4 separate regions of the Homo sapiens genome follow, and regions 1, 2 and 3 are each linked to region 4. Evidence: promoter capture Hi-C in 16 types of primary human blood cells and fetal thymus (Javierre and others, 2016). All regions are on one chromosome and are shown on one strand. Each heading gives the region's core, a stretch centred on a gene start or on the middle of the fragment in contact. The rest is flanking DNA. Distances are from core to core; before and after follow the strand shown. Region 1 overlaps LOC105369890 (a long non-coding RNA gene). Region 2 overlaps LOC105369892 (a long non-coding RNA gene). Region 3 overlaps LOC105369890 (a long non-coding RNA gene). Region 4 holds the start of GALNT4 (polypeptide N-acetylgalactosaminyltransferase 4).

What was found. Contacts are between HindIII fragments. The CHiCAGO score rates a contact against its expected background, and 5 or more counts as called.
Region 1: a fragment that was not itself captured here is called in contact with the fragment with the promoter of GALNT4 in region 4 in 1 of 17 cell types (naive CD4 T cells); the score reaches 5.4 in naive CD4 T cells.
Region 2: a contact is called between a fragment that was not itself captured here and the fragment with the promoter of GALNT4 in region 4, in 1 of 17 cell types (total B cells). The highest score is 6.6, in total B cells.
Region 3: a fragment that was not itself captured here is called in contact with the fragment with the promoter of GALNT4 in region 4 in 1 of 17 cell types (total CD8 T cells); the score reaches 6.4 in total CD8 T cells.

Annotation. Positions count from the first base shown.
Region 1 is chr12:90,079,716-90,083,350 of GRCh38, reverse strand. All of the region lies in intron 10 of LOC105369890 (a long non-coding RNA gene), which reads right to left. Among named protein-coding and RNA genes, the nearest start is that of LINC02399, 130 kb to the right of the region's middle. The HindIII fragment of the contact is 229 bases long and covers 1,752-1,980 here.
Region 2 is chr12:90,257,430-90,260,781 of GRCh38, reverse strand. The region is part of intron 2 of LOC105369892 (a long non-coding RNA gene); the gene reads right to left. Among named protein-coding and RNA genes, the nearest start is that of LINC02392, 34 kb to the left of the region's middle. The HindIII fragment of the contact is 2,808 bases long and covers 689-3,352 here.
Region 3 is chr12:90,058,115-90,061,540 of GRCh38, reverse strand. The region is part of intron 8 of LOC105369890 (a long non-coding RNA gene); the gene reads right to left. Among named protein-coding and RNA genes, the nearest start is that of LINC02399, 110 kb to the right of the region's middle. The HindIII fragment of the contact is 593 bases long and covers 1,709-2,301 here.
Region 4 is chr12:89,523,546-89,527,169 of GRCh38, reverse strand. It overlaps GALNT4 (polypeptide N-acetylgalactosaminyltransferase 4), which reads left to right and starts at 2,374. Exons shown (of 1, transcript NM_003774.5): 1 at 2,374-3,624. The coding sequence starts at 2,621. POC1B-DUSP6 (POC1B-DUSP6 readthrough) reads left to right here and starts at 1,123. Exons shown (of 11, transcript NR_189589.1): 1 at 1,123-1,289; 2 at 1,966-2,050. It overlaps POC1B (POC1 centriolar protein B), which reads left to right and starts at 1,123. Exons shown (of 12, transcript NM_172240.3): 1 at 1,123-1,289; 2 at 1,966-2,050. The coding sequence starts at 1,275. It overlaps POC1B-GALNT4 (POC1B-GALNT4 readthrough), which reads left to right and starts at 908. Exons shown (of 3, transcript NM_001199782.1): 1 at 908-1,289; 2 at 1,966-2,050; 3 at 3,497-3,624. The coding sequence starts at 1,015. It also overlaps POC1B-AS1. RefSeq lists silencers at 1,168-1,427, 1,978-2,357 and an enhancer at 2,448-2,657. The HindIII fragment of the contact is 3,011 bases long and covers 825-3,624 here.

The DNA of each region.
Region 1 (3,635 bases), core at 617-3,116, 560 kb before region 4:
TGTCTGAAGAACTAGGGATATAACGACGTATAGGATCAGGTCCATTATTTAAGGAACTTACAGCTGTTTGGTGCAAGCAGACACTTGTATGTGCATTCAAATATTCAATTGGCAAACTATTTTTTTAGTGACTACTATGTACCACGCACATCTTAGGGGCGTAGCAAACAAAAATCAATGTAGCATCATAAGTTCTATGCTAGCAGTGAGAATAAAATACCATGACAGCACAGAGAAGAGAGTTATGGCTGCCATGATGGGATCATGGAACGCTTCAGCAACTGTTAACATCAGAGGCCTGGCTACTAGTACTGCATCTCACACTTACCAGCTGTGTGACTTTGGACAAGTTTCAAATCACCATCACCCACTGCAATATTGTTAGAAGATGCAGATTTTGTTAATCCTATGAGAATTCTAATAATAGTGCATGCACATCCAAATTCATAGATTAAAACCATTGGAGAAGCAATCCTTTTTACTCCTCTACCCACAAGGGTGACTCTGTAATATTTTTCAAATATAAGACAGTCTACAATTGAGCAACCACTCTATGTAGATCACAGTTTTAGATAACCAGGGTTGAGGACCTAGGGTACATGTAAAGGAAATAGAATACCTGCTCTCTGCCCATCAACCACAGTGATGACAAGCCAATAAACATAATTATGCTGGACATTACTTAATGGGCACTCCATAGCTATTCACTCCCACAACTGTTTATGGTACATTCAAGTGAGTGAATACAAATTTTGCTATTTTGTAGAGGGATAGAGTGTTGAAACTGCTTAAATATTATCTAATCTAACTCCTTCAAACTGAGAGAAAAAGAAGTTGAATGATATTCCCAAATCATAGAACTAGCTAATAAAGTATCTAACATTAATGGCTACTCAACTCAGGCAAGTAGATGATCAGGTTTTGACAGGGAGTTAAAAAGAAAAAGATGATATTCTGCTCCTATGAAAATAGTATGATGATATAGCATTAAGGGAAAGTGTCTCTTGGGACAAAAGTAGGTGATGAGAAATCTAATTACACACACGCACACACACACACATTAGCTTTCAACACTGATAACCCACCTGCTTCTTAAAAATTTTAAAGAAAATATTGAGTGCAAGAGAAGTAGCTCTCAAACTTACACGTTTTCATTTAACAGATAGTTGACTTTTCTACCTTTACAGGAAGGCAACACAATTTCTTCTCCATGCCTGACATGTTACCAGTTCATGACTAAATAATGAATAAATAGCTGCAGACAAGTAATTCTCAAGGGGGCCTCAAGGTACATCTTAGATGTTTGTGTTAATAAGTCTAGTTTCAAAGTAGAACTGGCAATCTCAAAAGAAATCGTTCTGAGCAATTCAAATCTCCAGCCATTGCAACAGGCAGCTCTTCACAAGTGTTTTGTTAATTCTAACCATGATCATATAATGCAAAATGGGATATGGGCATAACAATCTATTTTGGTTGAACATTTCAAAGAATGGCCAAATGTGGCTCATGATGCTGTATTTTACCTACAAAAATTCAAACTAATTATTGCCTCTAATCACACCAGCTCTTCAGCAAAACTAATATTAGAAAACTCTTCATCAGTGTTCCATCTTTCCTGTTTTGCCACATATTTGCAACTTTTCATCAGAAGACCTTTGCTTATTCTATATGTGATGGCAGAAGGGAGAATCAAAGGGTAGATGAGAAGCCTGTAATACCCACTGGGATTCAACTCTTGTTTATGCAAAGCTTGCAATAACTCACCTGTTGGTTAATATAGTTGTTCATTTCTCCCATCATGTGATATTCAAATATGGTGTTTGTGTGTGTGTGTGTGTGTGTGCGTGTGTGTGTGTGTCTGTGTGTTGGGAACTGAAGGCGAGAAGAAGAAAGACAAGTGGTGATGGTAGAATTTAAAAGTAGAATCCTAAAAGGTATGTCTTAAATAATAAAAGCGATTTATATAAAAGTGATAAAGCTTGGTCATGTCTCACCCATTTATAAATGAGTTGAAAGGAGTCCAGAAACCTCAGTGACTTTCCCGGCACAAAATGGACAAATGAACTGTAAGAATTAATGTTTATTATCTCCAGTATTATGAATCACCCTTATACATAATGACTTATCAATTTGTACTTAATTGGCAGCTTTACAGATGTTTTGGATTTACTTTGGCAAATGCTTCATTATTCTAACTACATGATTAGCTCCTACCAGTCACAGTCGATTTGCCCTGTTTTCGCTATTTTTTCTACATGAAGTTTGGGCTTCTAATAAACCCATTGCCCAAGTGGTGAACATAGTACCCAACAGGTAGTTTTTCAACCCTTTCCCTACTCCTTCCCTCCCTCTTTTGGAATTCCCAGCGTTTATTGTTCCCATCTCTGTGTCCCTGTGTACCCATTGTTTGGCTCTCACTTACATGTGAGAACATGTGGTATTTGGATTTCTGTTTCTACACTAATTCACTTAGGATTATAGCCTCCAGCTGCATCTATGTTGCTGCTACAAAGGACATGATCTCATTCTTTGTATGCCTGTGTGATATTCCATGGTGTATATGCACCACATTTTCTTTATCTGATCCACCATTCATGGGGATCTAGTATCAGAGATTATAATGGAAATCTACTTTCTTGACAGATAACAGTTCTGATTCACACCTATTTTATCAGAACATACCATCAGAAAATTCTTCACCTCTCTTCTCAAATGAAATTCTAAAATATTCTACATTTCTGAACTTGCCCTTCTCATTTTTTCTCAGCCTTAAGGATTTTTATTTTGAATACCATAAAGCAGCATTGGACTAAGAGTGAGAAAACATCAGTTAAGTCTTGCTTCTATCTATCTTGGACACTGGAGAAATCTCAGTAAGCCAGTAAGCATGTGCCTTATTCAAGGACTGATGGATGAATTAGCAACTGGGTGGATGAATGTCACCATTTACTCATCCACTTCAGATGGATCGCTGGTCTTTGGAAACTTGATTCCTTCAGGTTTGTAGTCTGTTATCTTAAATTTGTTATAATCTGTTATAATCTGTTATCTTAAAATTAAGAGAAATATTGGGTACTTATACTGTGCCAGGTATTTAAAAGGTATTTTAAATATATAGAGCCGTAAATATACAGATAATTATATGGTTATAATTGAGTCATTAAAACAATTACCATTAACCTCATTTTACATCAGAGGAAAACTGAAATTCATGAATACTTTGTAACTGGCCCAAAGTCACATAGTGGGAAAGTGGCAGAACTTATTTACAATCCCAGTTCTCTGGGATTGAATGCTCTGACCTCTTTGTCACATGACTTCTCATTGTCCTTCTCGTTCTTTATCTCTGTGTGAACTCTGTGCCGCCAATCGGTGCTTGCTTTAAGGTAAAGAATGCATTAAATCTTAGTAGCTTCAAATGCTTTGCAGTGTCTTTAAAGAAAGCATGCAGAATTCAGAAGAGGTAGGGACTATTTTTTATAATTAACAAGCCAAAGGAATAGTTGTGTTACCGAGGACACAGATAGGTATCTCAATTAAAAAGAAAAATTATAGTCCTTCTAAATGTTCATTCACAGTAGACACTTTGGAATGTCTTGCTGAATGGCATTTAAAACTCTGCATAGAGTTATAAA
Region 2 (3,352 bases), core at 843-3,342, 730 kb before region 4:
AATCTGCCCTCCAGGTTTAGGGAGGATGATGAGGCCTTGCACACTGAAGCTTCTGACTTTGTTTCTGGCATCATGGAACAGAGGTTATAAACTCAGTAATCCAGAGAATATGATAAACACACCCTAATAATCTTGAAAAAAACCAATCCAACTCCATTATTTCCATAAGGAGTGAGATCACCCTGAGAAGGGTGCTGTGGTTAGATGGGACATGAGCACATTAAATCTTCAGATTCCATGCAGCAAGCAGATCTGTATTTTGGGATTGATATCCAACTTTTCTGCCCAAGTGAGGCTTGTACACAGCTCCCATTATTTTTATTATGTTTTTGGTGATCTGCACAACTCTTAAACAATGAAGAAAGAAAATATGAGTGAAGAGACACATAAGTCTCTGGTTCTCAGGTCAAAGGCTCAGCAAGCAGCTGTTCAACCCCAAGGGCCCTGCAGAGATTCCCAGCAGTCGTCCTGAGGATGAGGCTCTAGGCTTGCATATTTGTCAGGGCACTTACATCCTGGACAGCACTCCAGTGCAAAATTGACCAAAAAATCAGGTAAGGCAGGCACTCACACAGCCCATCTGGTAAAGCATCCACCCTAGAGTCTGATGTGTCTCTAGACCTGGGTATCTCCACCCCATGAAGTGTACCTGACAATTCCCCACGGACTGGAAAGAGAGAATGAAGCTTATGTTTATATTTTTTAATTTTTATTTATTTATTTATTTATTTTGAGATGGAGTCTTGCTCTGTCGCCCAGGCTGGAGTGCAGTGGCGAGATCTGAGCTCACTGCAAGTTCCGCCTCCCAGGTTCACGCCATTCTCCTGCCTCAGCCTCCCAAGTAGCTGGGACTACAGGCGCCCGCCACCATGCCCGGCTAATTTTTTTTATTTTTAGTAGAGACGGGGTTTCACCATGTTAGCCAGGATGATCTCAATCTCCTGACTTCATGATCCTCCCGCCTCAGCCTCCCAAATATGTTTATATTTCATCACATTATTTTAAATCAATATTTTACGTGTGTTTGAAAATGTGCATAATACACTGGAACACTAGATTGCATATCAAATAATAAGTAAATATACATATAGGGAAGAATGCTTAATTTTTTATTGGTAAGAAGACATGCAATCTAAAAAGTTTGGACACAGCTGTTCTAGATTGCCCCCTTTCCCCAGCCAAATGTTCATTAAAAAGGCAAGGCCTCAGAAAGACATGACTGCCATAACAGCCCTCTAAATGTCAGCAAACCTGCTGATTGAGGACAGAGATTAGACTAAGGTTACCATAGGGCAGAGGGAAGGAAAAAGGAAGGAAGGGAGAAATGGGAAATGGAAGTCCCTTTCTTCAGATGACATCTTTCTCCAATAATAAACCTTTAAACCAGAGCCCAAACTATCCACCTTCCTCATCCTCGACTCTCTGACATACCCCACCTAATTTGGTGTGAACCACGGTAACTCTCATCTAATATCTGTTAAACCCAGGAACAAGATCCAGGGTAAAGGGTGCCATCTTGGGAGGGTGTGTGTAGTGAGTCAAAGAGACCAAATATACTCAGGAAAATGCAATGGCAAGATTCAGGAACATGCAGCTGCAGAGTGTGGTCCTCAGGTAGTTTGTCTGAAAGGTGTCCATGAGCAGAGGACACTGACCTCAAAATTGAAAAACAAGGCCAGGGCCAGGCATGGTGGCTCACACCTGTAATCCCAGCACTTTGGGGCAGATCACCTGACGTCAGGAGTTCAAGACCAGCTTGGCCAACATGGTGAAACCCTGTCTCTACAAAAAATACAAAAATTAGCCGGGTGTGATGGTGGATGCCTGTAATCCCAGCTACTCGGGAAGCTGAGGCAGGAGAATTACTTGAACCTGGGTGGCAGAGGTTGCAGTGAGCCGAGATGCTGCCATTGCACTCCAGCCTGGGCAACAGAGTGAGACTCTGTCACAAAAAAAAAAAAAAAAAAAAAAAAGGAAATAAAGAAAAACAAGGCCAGGCACAGTGGCTCACACCTGTAATCCCAACACTTTGGGAAGCTAAGGTGTGTGGATCTCTTGACCTCAGGAGTTCAAGACCAGCCTTGGCAACATGGTGAAACCCTGTCTATACCAAAACATACAAAAATTAGCTGCTGTGATGGCATGTGCCTGTAGTCCCAGCTACTTGGCGGGGCTGAGGCTGGAGGATCACATGAACCTGGAAGGTTGAGGCTGCAGTGAGTCGTGTTCATGCCACTTCACTCTGGCTGGACAACAAAGTGAGATCCTGTCTCAAAAAAAAGAGAAAAAACCAAGAGCTCAAGTTCAAGATCACAGGTTGTAAAGAGCACAGATTGTAGACAGGTGAACCCCAGGCCAAGTCCAGCCTGTAAACATGATTTGTTTGGTCATAGGTCATAGGTCTTTTTTAAAATTTTGAACTGGTTGTAAGCATTTGCAACTTGGGTGATTTTATACAGAAAATGTTTACATTTATGGCTTTTCTTTATAAAAGACAGATCTGAAAGCATTGTACCCACATTCCTGAATAGCCATCATGGGCTGAGGACAAGTTTTGTGCTTCCTAAACAAGGAGGGCAGAGGCTGTCATTGTCATTGCGTCCCTGCAAGGACTGCTGCACGCAGCTATGCTTGTTTCCATTGCTCTAGACTCACAGAGCAGCAACACAGAAAGCTGAGAGAGGTCAGGAAGGCAAAAAGAAACCAAGGATGAGCAGGTCATTCTCATACCTCCTCTCCCTGACATCATTGCTGCCATGTGCCAGGCACTGCCCTAGGAATCAGCAGCAGGAAGAATCTAAAGCAATCAGAAAAGATGAGGTGCCTGCTTCTATTGAACATATATTCTAGTTGAGAAAACTGGATAATAAATCAATAAATATCAGATATCAGGGACAATAATATCTAATATATTTCTAATGCTGTAATGAGCCAGTCACCATTCTCTCTCTTATGTGGTTTGTGTTCTTTTACACATATGAATTCCCGCAGAAACCTCATGAAAGATAATTAATTACATCCTATTTACAAATAGGAAATTGAATAGTGGAGACAAGCAACTTTGATAAAGTCATACAACTACTCCGTGGTGGAGTAATAATGGGTCCCAGCAGTCTGGCTTCAGAAGCAAGGCATTTAACCCCCGTGCCACATCATTAAGTATCAAGCAGAGTGTTAAAATGGACTGATATAAAAGAGAGGGACTTACCAGACAGCTACTTTAGATTTGTAGATCAAGAAAAGCCTTTCTCTGGAGGTGATATTTAAGCTGAGATCTAAAGGACACAACTATGCAAAAACTAGAATAACATAGTAGGCAAAGGGAAAAACTAATGTAAAGGACTAAAGTTGG
Region 3 (3,426 bases), core at 756-3,255, 530 kb before region 4:
AGATATATGATGCCTCTATTATTTAGCCCCTATCCAAAGCCACGTTATGGCCATCATTTCCTAAAATATTCTTAAAAATTCATTGTCATTAACAGATATGTAATAATCACTTATGTAAGGCACTATGTTAGGTAACAAGGTAGCAATTGGATGTGGGAAGGCCCCAGTCAAAGAAAAGTAAAAGCTGCAGCATTTTAACAACCCAAATTTTAGGGTTAATTGCCAACGTGTAATCTAAACATTGCCCTGTTATTAACATAAGCTGCAGCTTCATAGAAACTTAATTCTCCAGGCACAAATCCATTATTCTATCTACTGCCTCCTTATCACCTGCCACCAATATTGGTCTCCTTGATGGCATAGTTTTAGTGTTTTGCACTGAAATTATCCCTAACTTGAGCCATCTAAACAAGTCTTACAACTTTCCTCTCAGTCTTACAACTTTCCTCATTGTTGTTTCAAATCTTATATAACTTAATCAATTCCATCTTATTGAAGCTGCTATAGACATTCTTCCTTCTATGCGGTTTCCTCACTACAGAATATACCATGTGAAGTTTTAGACTGACTAAATTCTTTTAATGTAAAGAGACCGTTGGCGAGTACGGTGGCTTACGCCTGTAATCCCAGCATTTTGGGAGGCCAAGCCAGGCAGATCACTTGAGCTCAGGAGTTTGAGACCAGCCTGGCCAACATGGTGAAACTCCATCTCTACTAAAAATACAAAAATTAGCCAGGCATGGTGGTGCATGCCTGTAGTCCCAGCTACTCGGAGGCTGAGACACAAGAATTGCTTGAACCCAGGAGGCAGAGGTTGCAGTGAGCCAAGATAGCACTACTGTGCTCCAGCCTGGGCAACAGAGTGAGACTCTGTCTCAAAAAAAAAAAAAAAACACTCATCTTTTCTGATATATTTATAGGGACTGCCATGAAACTGCTATACAAGTCTCTATTATTATCAATGGTAGAGTATTATCTGCTCACAATAATACTAATAAATAATTTTAGAAAATCAGTTCTATTTTCATGCAGGTAGAGCCATCCCTTTATAGATTAATTTACTGGGTAGGACATTTGCAGGGACTGCTGTTTATTGCTGATAAATATAGCTTGCTTATTTAAGCTCTTTACCTTGTTCTAACCCTGCTGAGAGATCTTCTGAAGCAAGAAGCTTTAGAATGGCACAGGCAGGTAATGGGCTGACAGCACTGGACAACCTCTTATTGGAGGCACCATGATAGGTAATTAAGCAACCACCGTCACTCAAGGTCAAATGATCCTTAATCTAAAAACAATCTCTAAATGACATAAGAACAGCTTTAACCATAACATCCACTGCATTTGAGGTCCTATTTCATCTATCTGCAGAGCAAAGTCAGTAATATGAGACTCATAAACCAAGCAGGGTTGCAAATCCTCTTATGCTACCCACAAGAAATGAAGGGAGTGGGGGAAAGCATTGTTTTGAAATTTCACTTATGCAAAGAAATGAGAAAATAGTTCATAAGATGATTGTTCTGTGTAAGCAGTGGTCAAATAATGTTATTTGATGGAAATTGTTTTCTTTGCTTGCTTCCTGAACCCTCCATTTAACATTTCTAGGAAATCATTCTGATGGAAAAGGTCAAATATATACAAAAATAAAATTAGGCCTATTAATCATATTTTGTAATTGGATAACTTGAACATTTTTATTCAAAGAGAAGCTTCCTAATTCTACCCTATACCTTTAGTTCCTCAGAATTTAAAACAGAAATTAACTTCAATGACTCACATTTCTGTATGGAGTTTTATGCCTCAGAATATGTTATACTTATATTTATTTGTGTAACTAAAGGGAAGAAGCAATTATTTGGATAATGTTAAAAAAACTGGAATTTTAACTTCAGTTTGTCAGAGACAAAAGCACTGCAGATTTAATTCTTCTCAAACTTTAATGTGAATACAAATCACCTGGGTATCTTGGTAAAATGCAGATTCCAGTGTAGCAGGTTTGGCGTAAGGCCTGAAAACCAGCATTTCTAACAGGCAACCAAGTGACACCTATTCTCAATCAAGGTTCACACTCTGAACAGTAAGATTATAGAATTTTCTATTATACCTGCAGGGTTTCTAAAGAGCGGATAATGATAGGACAAGTGAAAAATTAATTTTTTAGATCTATTTTCTTATCCTCCACTTTCATTTGCATACATAGACATATCTAATGTTTTAAAATCAACTAATGAATGTGGTTTATCCTTTTGAATGCGTAAAATGATACAAATGCAAAATGATCACTATTATGATTTGTATTAAGCTTTGTATCAACATCTAATGCACTTCTTATTAATTCATGGACTACTAATTTAATCTTCTTACTGTGATCAGTCAACAAGTAAACCATTCTCAGACTGTTGAGGAAATGCAAATTTTAATATAACCAATCAAAACATTCAGTTAGGTTACACTGAATAGTTTATAACTAGTAGAGTAAAAAGATTGTTTTAAATTGGAAATGCACTAAAAGTAACATTTTCTTTGTTGAGCTAAAAAATTAGCATATTTACTTAAAATGCTGACTCAGACCTTGGCCAGGCCATTGACTTCACTGAGGAGTTCAAACTGTGTTAAAGCTTTTAATAAAACTCTGGGGGAAATTCCACTGCTACACAATGAAATTCCATTACGTATGACTTATTTTTGGCTCCCCAGTTGATAATAAAACATATTAAATGGCATTTCCCTTTATTTTTTTCCTGAGGCTCAGTTTTTATACCACTATGTATTCTTCAAGAATGTTTTAACTTAAAAGTATTTTTTATTTTGTTCTTCAAGAAGTACTAAGATATGTAAATTTTGTTATTGTAATTATGTCATAGTGGATCAAAAATTATGTATTGGCAATTACCCTGCTTAACAATTGCCAAAAATATTCTACTGTTTATGGTGTTGAAATGCCAAGGAAGAACTTTATGCAGAAAAGATTCACATTTCTGAAGTGTTGAACATAGTTAGTAACCAATATGTATTTTTGTGCGACCCTGATCCTTCAATGGTTGTTTGAGGATTACTGCAATGGGTCTAAAGACTATCAACTTTAAGAGAAGAAATAACATACATTAAAAAAAAAGTCAGGCCGGGTACCCTGGCTCACTCCTGTAATCCCAGCTCTTCGGGAGGCCAAGGCAAGTGGATCACGAGGCCAGGAGTTCAAGCCCAGCTGGCCAACGTGGTGAAATCCTGTCTCTACTAAAAACACAAAAACTAGCTGGGTGTGGTGACACTTGCCTGTAGTCCCAGGTATTCAGGAGACTAAGGCATGAGAATCGCTTGAACTTGGGAGGTGGAGGTTGCAGTAAGCCAAGATCACACCACTGCACTCCAGCCTGGGTGACAGAGCAAGACTCAGTATCAAAAAAAAAGGAAAGAGAAAAATGTCAGGTT
Region 4 (3,624 bases), core at 1,125-3,624:
AGGGGAAATATCTTAGTCATCATTGTGTCCCTCAAGGCCAAACATACAACAGATATTTAACAAGTGTATACTTAAATTAACTAATACTGTAATCTAAAGCCTACCTGTTTAGTTGTTAAGTACCATATTCAATAAAATTAAACTCAATCACTAGACAACTAGGGAATCTGTAATTAAGGTGTGTAGCATACCTTTCATTTGCATAAAACACATGTCTTACCAGCTGTGTTCTATCATGCCCTTTGATGTTGCTAAGGATCTTTACACTATATGTAATTTTCAGCTCAGAACATCACGCTTTGAGGCAGGGTTAAAAAAAAAAAAAGGATATGGACTTGGAATTAGAAGAACTGTCTCTGTGTGACCTCTAAGACCAATATCTAGGAATCAAGTTTATAACTTGGAAACATTGAAAACATTTTGTAATTCTACCAACTTCATTGTTTGGCTGAAGCACAAATGATACTATGTGTAACAAAGCCTGCTGTAGAAACGTGGTCTCACAAAAAACAAACAAAAAAAACCATGTTTCCAAGTCTTCCTAAAGACTTTAAGTATCCAGCTGTGTAAGTTTAGTGCTCTAAGGTATACGCAAATAAGCAGATGAGAATGGAAACATATCGCAGAAAATTATTAAGTGCATGCACAACATTTATTCATTCATTCACTCATTCATTCATCACGCACATCCAGCAACTATATCAATATCCTGCAGGGCACTGTGTGGAAAACAGTGGTTAAATAAATTCAAATCTGCCCTCAGGGGATTTAGTTCCTTTTAGTATATTAATAACTAGCAAGCTGCCCCTCTTCATGTCAAAGCTTTACGTCAACAAAATAAGCGGTAGGGGATCACCTTAAACGTCACGGGTGCTGTCTCTTTAAAACGTAATAGAACTCTGATCGCATCGATCACAGGCTCACAACGCCCTTCCATTCATCGCTCTTATTCCAGTCCTGGTTACTACCCCACTTCCTGACATCAAACCAGGGAGAACGCGAGTGTTAGTTAACATGGCTTGGTGTGTGGCCACAGCTGACCCGGCGCATACCTCCCGTCCTCTCTTTACAGGGCTGGCGGTGTCTCGGGGCTCGGCTGGCCATGCCTGGAGCGCGGGGTTTGACTGGGCCGCCGTTGTTGTAGTGACCGGGAGGCGCTGCCGCTCTGGGCAGACGGTTCCGGGAGCCGCACGGTCCCCTCTCCTTCCCCATCCTCTCCCCTCCCCTCTCCGGGTTCCCCCACCCACAGGAGCCTTGGGCCGACCACTCCCCCGATGGCCTCAGCCACGGTAAGGACGGGTTGGAGGTGGGGGGGGTCCCTCCCTGGAGCCTGTCCCGCGGGCTGCGGGGCCAGGTCCGGGCCGAAGCCGCACCTGGAGGGAGATGGAGGCAGGTGTCCGTAGCCGGGTCCTGAGCCCCTCGTCCCGGGGCGTCCGTATCTCACTCTCTGCCATCGGGGCGGACGGAGTGCGGAACCCAGACCCGGCTCCCGGACGCTCTTCCCCGAGTTCCGGAGCTCCGGACTGAGCTGGGCGGCCCCACGGCCCCCAGAATTCTCGGAGGGTTTCCGTGGAGCGCCTGCGTCAGAATCACCTAGGAAGTATTAAAAAAAAAAAAAGTACCAAAGCCGAGGCGCATCCTCGCACCTGCCTGCCTTGGGCCAGCGGGCGGGGCCCGGGAACGTGCATTTCAAAGGGGCCGCGGTTCCTGCGATGCGCTGGACTCTGGGAAGCGCGAACAGAGCGTTTTGCGGGCTCTGCGGGGAGAGCTGGCGCCGGCGTCTCCCTGTAGCAGGACTGGGCGCCGCGCCCGTGGGTGGGCTGCTGCCCGGCCCCGCCGCCCAGCCAAGCCGCCGCCTGGGTGGCCATTCCCAAGCCGGACTCCGGGGAAGTGGCAGCGTGGATCCCAGCCGCCAGAATTCGAGGTCTGCGGCGGCTTTCAAAACTTGACAACTTTCCTTTCCAGGAGGACCCCGTTCTGGAGCGTTATTTCAAAGGCCACAAAGCTGCGATCACCTCCTTGGACCTCAGCCCCAACGGCAAGCAACTTGGTAAGTCTTATTCTTGTTTTGCTTTTGTAATGAGACTAAACTCCATGGGCCGGAAACCTTTCCTCCTGTCCGGGCAGGGTCCCTAGGAGAACGGCTAAGGGCCTGTATGAGGGTTGAGAGCACCCGGAGACGAGGGCCCAGCGCGGCGGGGCGCAGCTAGGGCCCCCTCTGCCATCCCGGCCCCCAGCCCCCGGCCCGGCCAAGAGCCTCCTATCCAGCGGTCTGGGCCTGGCGGACGACTTTCGCAAACTAACCACCAGGAGGAGTGAGTGGGAAGGGGAGGGGTTTCTCCTCGGCCCGGGGAGGGTGGGGTGTTGGCTGGAGAGTTTGTGAAAAGTTGTGAGCCGAGCAGGAGGAAGTAGGGAGAGAGGAGTTGGGCTGTGCCGGAGGCCGAGGACCGAGAGGGCTCAGGTGACCCCTGGAAAGCCTGGGTGGCTGGAAAGGAGCCTAGCGCCTGCATGAAAGGAAGAACCTGCTGGGAAGTACCTGAGCTCGAGCTGTGGGTTCCGCCGCCCTTCCCCTGCGTGGTGGCTTGGTGGCCGCGTCTGCGCCTCAGCCCTGAGAATCCGGATGGCGGTGAGGTGGACTTGGGCAGGCAAGAGCTGCCTGCTGCTGGCGTTTTTAACAGTGGCCTATATCTTCGTGGAGCTCTTGGTCTCTACTTTTCATGCCTCCGCAGGAGCCGGCCGTGCCAGGGAGCTGGGGTCAAGAAGGCTCTCAGACCTCCAGAAAAATACGGAGGATTTGTCTCGACCGCTTTATAAGAAGCCCCCTGCAGATTCCCGTGCACTTGGGGAGTGGGGGAAAGCCAGCAAACTCCAGCTCAACGAGGATGAACTGAAGCAGCAAGAAGAACTCATTGAGAGATACGCCATCAATATTTACCTCAGTGACAGGATTTCCCTGCATCGACACATAGAGGATAAAAGAATGTATGAGTGTAAGTCCCAGAAGTTCAACTATAGGACACTTCCTACCACCTCTGTTATCATTGCTTTCTATAACGAAGCCTGGTCGACTTTGCTCCGTACCATTCACAGTGTTTTAGAAACTTCTCCTGCAGTTCTTTTGAAAGAGATCATCTTGGTGGATGACTTGAGTGACAGAGTTTATTTGAAGACACAACTTGAAACTTACATCAGCAATCTTGATAGAGTACGCTTGATTAGGACCAATAAGCGAGAGGGGCTGGTTAGGGCCCGTCTGATTGGGGCCACTTTCGCCACTGGGGACGTCCTCACTTTCCTGGATTGTCACTGTGAGTGTAATTCCGGTTGGCTGGAACCGCTTTTGGAAAGGATTGGGAGAGATGAAACAGCAGTTGTGTGTCCTGTTATAGACACAATTGATTGGAATACTTTTGAATTCTATATGCAGATAGGGGAGCCCATGATTGGTGGGTTTGACTGGCGTTTAACATTTCAGTGGCATTCTGTCCCCAAACAGGAAAGGGACAGGCGGATATCAAGAATTGACCCCATCAGATCACCTACCATGGCTGGAGGACTGTTTGCTGTCAGCAAGAAATATTTTCAGTACCTTGGAACGTATGACACAGGAATGGAAGTGTGGGG